Regions from separate parts of the Homo sapiens genome. Here region 1 is linked to region 2. Evidence: promoter capture Hi-C in human tissues and cell types (Jung and others, 2019). All regions are on one chromosome and are shown on one strand. Each heading gives the region's core, a stretch centred on a gene start or on the middle of the fragment in contact. The rest is flanking DNA. Distances are from core to core; before and after follow the strand shown. Region 1 overlaps GPBP1L1 (GC-rich promoter binding protein 1 like 1). Region 2 holds the start of EIF2B3 (eukaryotic translation initiation factor 2B subunit gamma).

Evidence for each region. Contacts are between HindIII fragments. The study calls those that stand out against the background at their distance.
Region 1: a fragment that was not itself captured here is called in contact with the fragment with the promoter of EIF2B3 in region 2 in 1 of the 25 tissues and cell types used here (spleen).

What each region holds. Positions count from the first base shown.
Region 1 is chr1:45,638,970-45,644,080 of GRCh38, forward strand. It overlaps GPBP1L1 (GC-rich promoter binding protein 1 like 1), which reads right to left. Exons shown (of 13, transcript NM_021639.5): 7 at 3,458-3,530; 8 at 1,241-1,434. Among named protein-coding and RNA genes, the nearest start is that of CCDC17, 17 kb to the left of the region's middle. The HindIII fragment of the contact is 4,098 bases long and covers 655-4,752 here.
Region 2 is chr1:44,984,607-44,989,799 of GRCh38, forward strand. EIF2B3 (eukaryotic translation initiation factor 2B subunit gamma) reads right to left here and starts at 1,989. Exons shown (of 12, transcript NM_020365.5): 1 at 1,887-1,989. It also overlaps the pseudogene PPIAP35. RefSeq lists enhancers at 1,763-2,032, 1,991-2,572, 2,283-2,332 and a silencer at 2,123-2,212. The HindIII fragment of the contact is 6,221 bases long and covers 1-5,182 here.

The sequences.
Region 1 (5,111 bases), core at 1,454-3,953, 660 kb after region 2:
GACCCATGGGCCAAATCTTGACCAAGGCATTTCTGTATGATTCATGAGCTCATACTTATTTTTACATTTTTAAAGAGCTGGAAAAAAAAAAGGCAATGTGTAACAAAAATCATATATATCAAGCAAAGCCTAAAATATTTATTATCTGGCCCTTCATAGAAAAAAATTACCAATCCCTGCCATACATTGTTTGGAGCCACTGAAGGAATTCAGGAAGGCATGTGATATATTCAATTGTTTTTGGAATGATCATTCTGGCAGTTCTGTAGGACACAGAGACATGAGAAAATAGAAAGGTATACTAGAACAGTAAATGTGAGAAGACAAAGTCCTGAACAAGGACAGCATAGAGAGAATAACAGGGACTTTGTAATTCCTTGGCTGAGGAGAATGACTAAGGAGGAAGAGAAGAGAAGTAGCCAAGATAGTCAAGCTGAGTGATTAGGATGTTGTTGCTATTACAGAAAACCAGAGGGGCCAGGTGTGGTGGCTCACGCCCATAATCTCAGCGCTCTGGGAGGCTGAGGCAGGAGGATTCCTTGAGGCCAGGAGATAGAGACCAGCCTGGGCAACAAAATGAGATTCTGTCTCTACAAAAAATAATTAAAAAAAAAAAAAAAAAAATGGCTGGGCGTGGCGGCTCACGCCTGTAATCCCAGCACCTTGGGAGGCCGAGGCGGGCGGATCACGAGGTCAGGAGATTGAGACCATCCTGGCTAACAACGGTGAAACCCCGTCTCTACTAAAAATACAAAAAAACACCGAGCCGGGTGTGGTGGCGGGCGCCTGTAGTCCCAGCTACTCGGGAGGCTGAGGAAGAATGGTGTGAACCCAGGAGGTGGAGCTTGCAGTGAGCTGAGATCGTGCCACTGCACTCCAGCCTGGGTGACAGAGCGAGGCTCCATCTCAAAAAAACAAAACAAAACAAAAAATAAAATAAATAAAAAAAATAGCCGGGCATAATGGCGTGCCCCTGTAGTTTCAGCTACTTGGGAGGCTGAGGTCACACTGAGCCATGATTGTGCCACTGCATTCCAGCCTGGGTGACAGAGTGAGACCTTGTCTCAAAAAAATAAAGAAAAAGAAAAAAAAAAAAGCAAAGAAAGCTGTATACATATAACAGGTACTGAAAGAATATCTGGTGACTGATGCGGCAAGAAAAAACAAATTTATTAATTTTTTCCTGATTTATTCCCAAACCTCTCTTGTATAAGGTTCTTGCCCTGATTCTAAATCATACCTTGGAAGGAGGTGGTACAGGCTTAGGAACCAGGTTCTTATAGACACTTGGAACCACGGATGACAATTTGTTCCCATTTGCATGGTGAGATCCTGGTGAGGTGAATGCAGCAGAGAAGGCAGCAGCAGGATCCTCTTTGGAAACTTTTTTGATAACTAGCATCTTGGAGGGTTGCTTGGCACTAGGCGGGTTTTCTGTGAAGTACAAGAGTGGAGAGACAACAGAATGTCAAACCTGTTGTGTAACATGAAGCATAGTTTATACAAAGGCCTTAGTCAACAAAACAGCTGACAGTTGAGACAGAGGGATTAAACATTCCCTGGTATGCACTTAATAGATACTCTCAAAAGTGAGACTACTCAGGAACTGTACAAAAAAATGCAGCATATGAGGAACTGGATACTAAATTTATAAATCAGCCAGGAAGTCCAAAGATGTTAGCAGTCCTTCAGGGGCACAATATGTCTGATGGACAGTGTGATCAGTTAAGCATGAACCCAACAAGAATAAATCCAAGCGCCAGGCACTGTGGCTCATGCCTGTAATCTCAGCACTTGGAGGTGCTGAGGTGGGCAGATCACTTGAGTCCCAAGAGTTCGAGACCAGCCTGGGCTGGCAAACCCTGTGGCAAATCCCCATCTTTACAAAAAATACAAACATTAGCCAGGCATGGTGGTGCACACCTGTGGTCCCAGCTACTTAGGAGGCTGAGGCGGGAGAATCACTTGAGCCCAGGTCGAGGCTGCAGCGAGCCATGACTGTGCCACTGCACTCCAGCATGGATGACAAAGTCAGACCCTAACTCAAAAAAACAAAAACAAAACAAAAAAAAACACCTAAAAGTAGCAGCTCCTGTCAGCATGAGAATAGAGAGATGAGGTAATCAGGGATTGGAGTCTGCCATGAAACCCTCTGATGAGGCAAACTGGAGCAAAGGTATACACCATTAGCAAAGAGGAGAAGGTACATCGATCAATCTTAATCCTACAATACTGGATTCTAAACCCATCATTTAGATATGTTAAAGACTTCCCATGTTCTTGGCTATCAACATGTCTAATGAAGAAACCAGGAGAGTCCAATTTGTAAATGCCAAAGATCCCAATGCCACAGATGAGGTTTGGTTTGAAATACAGATTCCTATCGCACCACTGCACTCTAGCCTGGGCGACAGAGTGAGATTCTGTCTCAAAAAACAAAACAAAACAAAACAAAAAACCACAAACATATATATACACACACATACACATAAACACACACACACACACACACACACACGAATATTTAAACATACATATATATGAATGTTTAAGAATATATTGTTATGGGCTGGGTATGGTGGCTCACGCCTGTAATCTCAGCACTTTGAGAGGCCGAGGCAGGCGGATGATGAGGTCAAGAGATCGAGACCATCGTGGCCAACATGGTGAAACCCCATCTCTACTAAATAACAAAAATTAGCCGGGCGTGGTGGCATAGGCCTGTATTCCCAGCTACTTAGGAGGCTGAGGCAGGAGAAAAGCTTGAATCCGGGAGGCTGAGGTTGCAGTGAGCTGAGATCTCGCCACCGCACTCCAGCCTGGCAACAGAGTGAGACTCCATCTCAAAAAAAAAAAAAAAAAAAAGTAAGTGAAGTAGCAATGTTAATTAAGTTACTTTTCATGAACTTTTTCTACTTAAAATCTGCTTCCATGTTGGCTACGGTGGCTCATGCCTGTAATCCCAGCACTTTGGGAGGCCAAGATGGGTGGATCACTTGAGGCCAAGAATTCAAGACAAGCCTGATCAACATGGTAAAACCCTGTCTGGACTAAAAATACAAACATTAGCCAGGCATGGTGTAGTCCCAGCTAGGGAGGTGGAGGCTGCAGTGAGCTGAGATTGCGCCACTGCACTACAGCCTGGGCAACAGAATGAGACTGTCTCAAACAAACAGACTAACAAACACCACCAAAACAACTGCTTCCAAATTCACGGTTCTATAAGTTCTCAGTTGTCTGTATTTTGACTCTACTACCATGGTAACATTTCAGTGGTGTTTGGGGGTTGGGCGGTGGGGTAGGGGGCAGAATAACCCGCTACAGTCAGATGTTAGTTACCATGGGCAAATGCATGAGATGAGAAACAAGAGATAAAAAGAGATAAGGAATCTTTGCTCCCCTCCCTGCTAAGAAAAAATTTTAAAGTTGTGCCTTTAAAATGGCAAAATCTACCTACCCCATACTCCAGAAGGTGTCCCAATAGGTCTGCATGGCTGATGCTGTTTGCCAGCTTCTGGATTCAAGGAAGGCTAGGAAAAAAGGGATATGAATGGTTGATACAGAAAGCTGATCATTTTGGCACTTTTCACAAAGTAGCCATCACCATGGAACCTATCAAATAATTACATATTTTACATATTAGCAACACTTACTAATTTGACACTGTATTCAGAAACGTAACAAACAGAAAATATCAAAACACAAAATCAATAGGTATTATGTTAATATTAGGTTCTCCTGAGTTTCATTTCCTTTGATATAAGGGATTTCATTTATTTTAAATAAACAGACTAAATGTGCGAATTCCCACTTTCCTATAGGATATGTATGCCAAATAAGGAGGCACTGAAAGTTAGATGAACAAGAATGTGGATCATTTTCCTCAGATTAAAGGAGGACAATGTGGTCAGTGAAATGTATAGTATTCACTGCATTTCTAAGATGGGTGTAGGGCAGGGGCAGACCATATGCCAAGGACTGTGCTAGAAATACAATAAAGAGCCCCTGTCTTCACACGGGTCACAGTTTTGCTATAAAAACTTCTAGACAAGTTAAGTACAATAAAAGGTTACAAGGACGATGAAAAAAATTCATATTAGGGAAGAAGGAGTACTCAGTAAGAAACATCAATTCTACTTGAAAGAGAAGTGCTATCAGAAAAGGCTTTACTAACAGGTGATTTAAGAATCCTTAAAGATGAATTCCAAAGCTGGAAAAACGGTAATTCCAGGAACAGAAAGCATTAAAAAGAACAGAATATTCAGGTCTGCAAATAGTTCAGCATGAGTAGTGCTAGGGAAGGAGGGGACCCTTCTGTGGGGAAAGAGGTATCTGGCAAAGCAGGCAAGAGCCAGCTTGTGGAGGATTTCTTAGGGGAGATTAAGTTTTATTCTACAGGTAATGAGGATCCATCTTTCATGCAGTTAACATTATCTAATTATCAACTTACAACCGTCACTCTAGTAGCAGCTTAAAGGATGGATCTGAGGTATTTAAACATCAACTAAGAGACCATTAGGAGATCAATTCCATAGTCCGGGAGGGTAATAAAGGTAACAGAAGTAGAGAACGAGATAAGGGAAAGGGCAGGGAAGAGTTAAGAGCAATAGACTAGACTTAATAACTAATCGTATGACACTGCTGTCCTAGCCCAAACTTTACGATCTGGTAACAGGGTAGGAGAATGGCTTTTTTTTTTTTTTTTTTTTTTTTTTTTTGTGACAGAGTGTCACTCTGTTGCCCAGGTTGGAGTACAGTGGCACAATCCTGGCTCATTGCAACCTCCACTTTCCAGGTTCAAGCAATTCTCCTGTCTCAGCTTCCTGAGTAACTGGGATTACAGGTGCGCACCACCACACCCAGCTAATTTTTGTATTTTTAGTACAGACAGGGTTTCACCATGCTGGCCAGGCTGGTCTCGAACTGACCTCAAGTGATCCACTCACCTTGGCCTCCCAAAGTGCTGAGATTACAGGCATGAGCCACTGTGCCCAGCAGGAAAATGGCTTTTCAGCACAATTGCCTGTGAACATTATACAAACAACAAAAAGACACCCAGGCTCCACTACAGAGCTTCAGAATCAGAATCTCCAGGGGCAGGGCCTCTAGCA
Region 2 (5,193 bases), core at 739-3,238:
GCTAGAATGCCTAGGTTTGAATTCTAGCTCTACTATTTATTATTAGCTGTGTGAACTAGGGCAAACTACGTAAATTTTCTATGCCTCAATTTTTGCATTTTATGATGGGGATAATTATAGTTTCACTTCACAGAGTTGTTGTTAAGATTAAATTTGTTATTCTACGTAAAGCAGACAAAATAATGTCCATCTTTTTTTTTTTTTTTTTTTTGAGACGGAGTCTCGCTCTGTCGCCCAGGCCGGACTGCGGACTGCAGTGGCGCAATCTCGGCTCACTGCAAGCTCCGCTTCCCGGGTTCACGCCATTCTCCTGCCTCAGCCTCCCGAGTAGCTGGGACTACAGGCACCCGCCACCGCGCCCGGCTAATTTTTTGTATTTTTAGTAGAGACGGGGTTTCACCTTGTTAGCCAGGATGGTCTCGATCTCCTGACCTCATGATCCACCCGCCTCGGCCTCCCAAAGTGCTGGGATTACAGGCGTGAGCCACCGCGCCCGGCCAATAATGTCCATCTTATGAGAAGCACTATATTTGTATTTGCTTTACTAGACAGAGACTAGATTATGGAAAACCTTCGTACTAATTGAGCCATGCTGCTTCATAATTCTGGTCTCTGCACTGCTACTGTTGCTTCCTAGTCTGCCTTTCTCTTGTGTCTAGTAATCACCTATTAAACTTTGAAGACAGCTCAAGAATCCTCTTGCCTACAAAGCCATTCCTAACCGTTCCCACCCCTCCAGAAGTGACTCCTTTTCCCGAAGTGCTTCCATTCTGCCATGTGCAGATTCTCTTAGCCTTTACGGGTTTCATTGCACGTATGTGTTTAAATGTCTACTTAAGTGTAACATTAATGTCTCTTAAATGTCTACATAAGAGTGTAAGAGTGACTTTCTTGGACTGTGTGTGCATCATCACTGTATTCCCAGTCAGATGCCAGAAATCAAAGTGGAATGAGGACCTGTGAACTTCACAACTGTATAAGAGTCAAACTCAAACATGTGCATAAGGGCATTAGAACCCAGGTCACTAGGAACTGAGGTTCCAGCTCTCAAGGAGGCCCTGGGTGAAGAAAGGCAACCTAGGAAGCATGAATAGTAATCATGAACATAACTAATCATGCTACCAGGCAGACTGTCAAATGCTCATGTCACTGCCACGACTATGGCTGACGGGAATCATGGCAACGAGTCTCGCTGCCTCCCAAGCTTTGGAGAGGGTGTTCACCGCATCTCAGACTTGCCTGCATCATAGCACTCATGCCTTTTCCAGTTGTAAATAGATAAGAAAACTGTATCAGAATTGGTCTGTCATTCCACGTGTGCTGCCTGAAGGCAGAGACCTCACTGCTCCTCCCTATATTTCACTGCCCTGCATCCAAACAACTAAAGGCAGGCTGAACAAATGAATGAAGGGCTGAGGCTGAAAGAGTGCAGGCACAGTGCTAAAGGCGTCTGGTACCGGTCTGGTGCTCGCTCACTCGCTGTGACTTTAAGCAGAACCCTCCCCGAAACTTCGTTTCTTTCTTTTCTTTTCTTTTTTTTTTTTTTTTTGAAACGGAGAGTCTCACTATGTTGCCCAGGCTGGAGTGCAGTGGCGCGAATTAGGCTCACTGCAACCTCCACCTCCTGGGTTCAAACGATTCTCCTGCCTCAGACTCTCGAGTAGCTGAGATTAGAAACTTAGTTCCTCCATCTGTTGCATAAGGTGGTTGGCTCGGATTCTCATCCCCAACCTCCCTTCTACTTCGGACACAGCTACACCGGGTCGAGCAGGGAGTCGAGCTGACAACTTCGGGGCTCAGCACCCTCTCCTACCCCTTCGGGTCCACCTCGGCCCAGTTCGACATGCCCGCCTCCCTCAGATGAGTGGCCCCACCGCACTGCTCACCCGGGTCAGCCAGCTTGTGTGCGGCCTGGCAGGGCAGAAGTCACAGCTATAACTCAGCTCCCGGCACGCCGCAACCGCTCCCAGCGATCTCCACGCCGCCTCTGACTGACAGCCCAATGGCGCAGGCGCGCGATGGCCGAGAAACTCGATGGAACGCGCAGAGCAGACCCATGGAGAAGAGAAGACCGCCGAGCGATGGATGACGGAGGGGAAGCACACTCAGCGGAGAGGAGGGAAGGCGGGCCGGAGGGGGCGGGGCCACCGAGGAGCATTCGACACGTGTGTCCCTCTGTCCATTAACACATTACCAACGCCTTTTGAGTATTCCTCCCAGTGCAGGGTGCCGGGAACCCAGACGGAACAACTCAGCCTCTTTCCTCAGGGAGTAAGTCTAAGACCTGGCTTCGAGTACATTCGGTGAAAGAAAGCTCATTGGGAGCCGCAATTTTGGCTAGCTAGTGAAAAAAATCACCGAATGCCCCTGCAGGGGTTGCCAGGACTTCCTATTTGTTTTTGTTGTTGTTGTTGTTGTTGTTTGTTTTTTGTTTTTTTTGAGACGGAGTCTCGCTCTGCGTCGCCCAGGCTGGAGTGCAGTGGCGCGATCTCGGCTCACTGCAAGCTCGGCCTCCCGGGTTCACGCCATTTTCCTCCCTCAGCCTCCCGAGGAGCTGGGACTACAGGCGCCTGCCACCATGCCCGGCTAATTTTTTTGTATTTTTAGTAGAGACGGGGGTTTCACTGTGTTAGCCAGGATGGTCTCGATCTCCTGACCTCGTGATCCGCCCGCCTCGGCCTCCCAAAGTGCTGGGATTACAGGCGTGAGCCACCGCGCCCGGCCCGGGACTTCCTATTTGTAACAGGGCCACTCACGTTAACTTTAGCCATCAAAACTGGGGGCGGCTGGGCATGGTGGCTCATGCCTGTAATCTCCGCAATTTGGGAAGCCGAGGTGGGAGGATTGCTTGAAACCGGGCGTTCAAGACCAGCCTGTGCGAGAGAGCCTCCAGTCTCTACAAAAGTAAAAATTAGCTGGGCATGGTAGTGTGTGCCTGTAGTCCCAGCTGCTCAGGAGGCTGAAACGGGAGGATCGCTTGAGCCCAGGAGTTCGAGGCTGCAGTGAGCTATGATCGGGCCACTGCACTCCTCCTGCCTAGACGACAGAGTGAGACCCTGTTTTTTTTTTTTAATTTAGTTTTTATTTCATAATCATAAACTTAACTCAGCAATCCAGTTAGGCATGGAAAGGAACAAGGAAAACATGGAACCCAAAGGGAACTGCAGCAAGAGCACAAAGATAAGATACTGCGAGCAGGCCGGGCGTGGTGGCTCACGTCTGTAATCCTAGCACTTTGGGAGGCCGAGGCAGGCAGATTGCCTGAGCTCAGGAGTTCAAGATCAGCCTGGGCAACATGGTGAAACCCCGTCTCTACTAAAATACAAAAAAAAAAAAAAAAAGAAAGAAAGAAAGAAAGAAAAAATTAGCCAGGCATGGCGGCGTGCGCCTGTAGTCCCAGCTACTCGGGAGGCTGAGGAAAGAGAATTGCTTGAACCCGGGAAGTGGAGGTTGCAGTGAGCCGAGATCGTGCCACTGCACTTCAGCCTGGGAGAGGGCGACAGGGTGAGACAGCGTCTCAAAAAAAAAAAAAAAAAAAAATACTGCAAGCAAATGGGGTGAAGGGGTGCTCTTCTGAGCTACAAAAGGAATGGTCTGGTGGTTAAGATAAAACAAAAGCCAAACTTGTTAGAGTTGTCCACAGTCAGCAATGGTGATCTTCTTGCTGGTCTTGCCATTCTCGGACCCAAAGTGCCCCATGGCCTCCACAATATTCATGCCTTCTTTCACCTTGCCAAAGACCACAGGATTGCCATCCAGCCACTCAGTCTTGGCAGTGCAGATGAAACACTGGGAACCATTTGTGTTGGGTCCAGCATTTGCCATGGACAAGATGCCAGGATGTGTATGCTTTAGGACGAAGCTCTCGTCATCAAATTTCTCCCCGCAGGTGTACTTGCCACCAGTGCCATTATGGCATGTGAAGTCACCACCCTGACACATAAACCCTGGAATAATTCTGTGAAAGCAGGAACCTTTATAACCAAATCCTTTCTCTACATTGCTCAGAGCACGAAAGTTTTCTGCTGCCTTTGGAACCTTGTCTGCAAACGGCTCGAAGGACACGCGGCCCAAGGGCTTGCCGTCGACAGCGATGTCGAACACGGTGGGGTTAACCATGGCTGATCGTACAGAGCTCCTGGCGTCGGTGGCTGCATTTGCAAAGCCGAGACCCTGCTTTTAACAAAACAATAATAGGCCAGGTGCGGTGGCTCACGCTTGTAATCCCAGAAGTTTAGGAAGTGAGGCGGATGGATCCCTTGGGCCCAGGAGTTCGAGACTAGCCTGGGCAACGTAGTGAAACACCCTCTCTACTAAAAATACAAAAATTAGTCAGGTGTGGTGCCGCGCTGTGGGGTTCCAGCTACTTGGAAGGCTGAGGCAGGAGGATCGCTGGAGCCCAAGAGGCAGAGGTGGCAGTGAGCCAATATGGTATCACTGCACTTCAGCCTGGGTAACAAAGAGACAGGATCTCTAAGTAAATAAAATAAATATTAAAAAATGACGAATAGATAATAAAATAATTGTTGTTCTAAGCTCTACGGTTTGGAGTGGTTTATCAAGTTGCACTAGATAACAGGACCAATGGCCATTCTCTTTTTCCCATGCATTCCTGCAATTTCCTAATCTTTTGAAAGCTTCCTTTTTTTTCGATTAATTAATTTTTTTTTTTTTTTGAGACAGTCTCACTCTGTCACCAGGCTGGAGTTCAGTGGCACAATCTTGGCTCACTGCAACCTCTGCCTCCTGGGTTCAAGTGATTCCTGCGTCAGCCTCCCGAGTAGCTGGGACTACAGGCATGCGCCACCACGCCTGGCTAATTTTTGTATTTTTAGTAGACAAGGGGTTTCATCAGATAGGCCAGGATGGTCTTGAACTCCTGACCTCGTGATCTGTTCGCCTCGACCTCCCAAAGTGCTGGGACACAGCCGTGAGCCACCGTGCCCAGCCTGATTCATCTCTTAAATCTTGAGTTGCTTTAGCTTCCTGCCAGTTAAAAGGTAGAGCATGATTTCTGTAATAAAAATAAAGGAGCTTGACTTCATTCAACAATATTTATTCATTTATTTTTAGAAATGAGGTCAGCTTATGCTGCCCAGGCTGGACTCAAACTCCTGGGCTCAACGATCGTCTTGCCTCAGCTTCCCAAGTAGCTAGGACTACAGGTATGTGCCATGGAGGACTGGCTTCAAC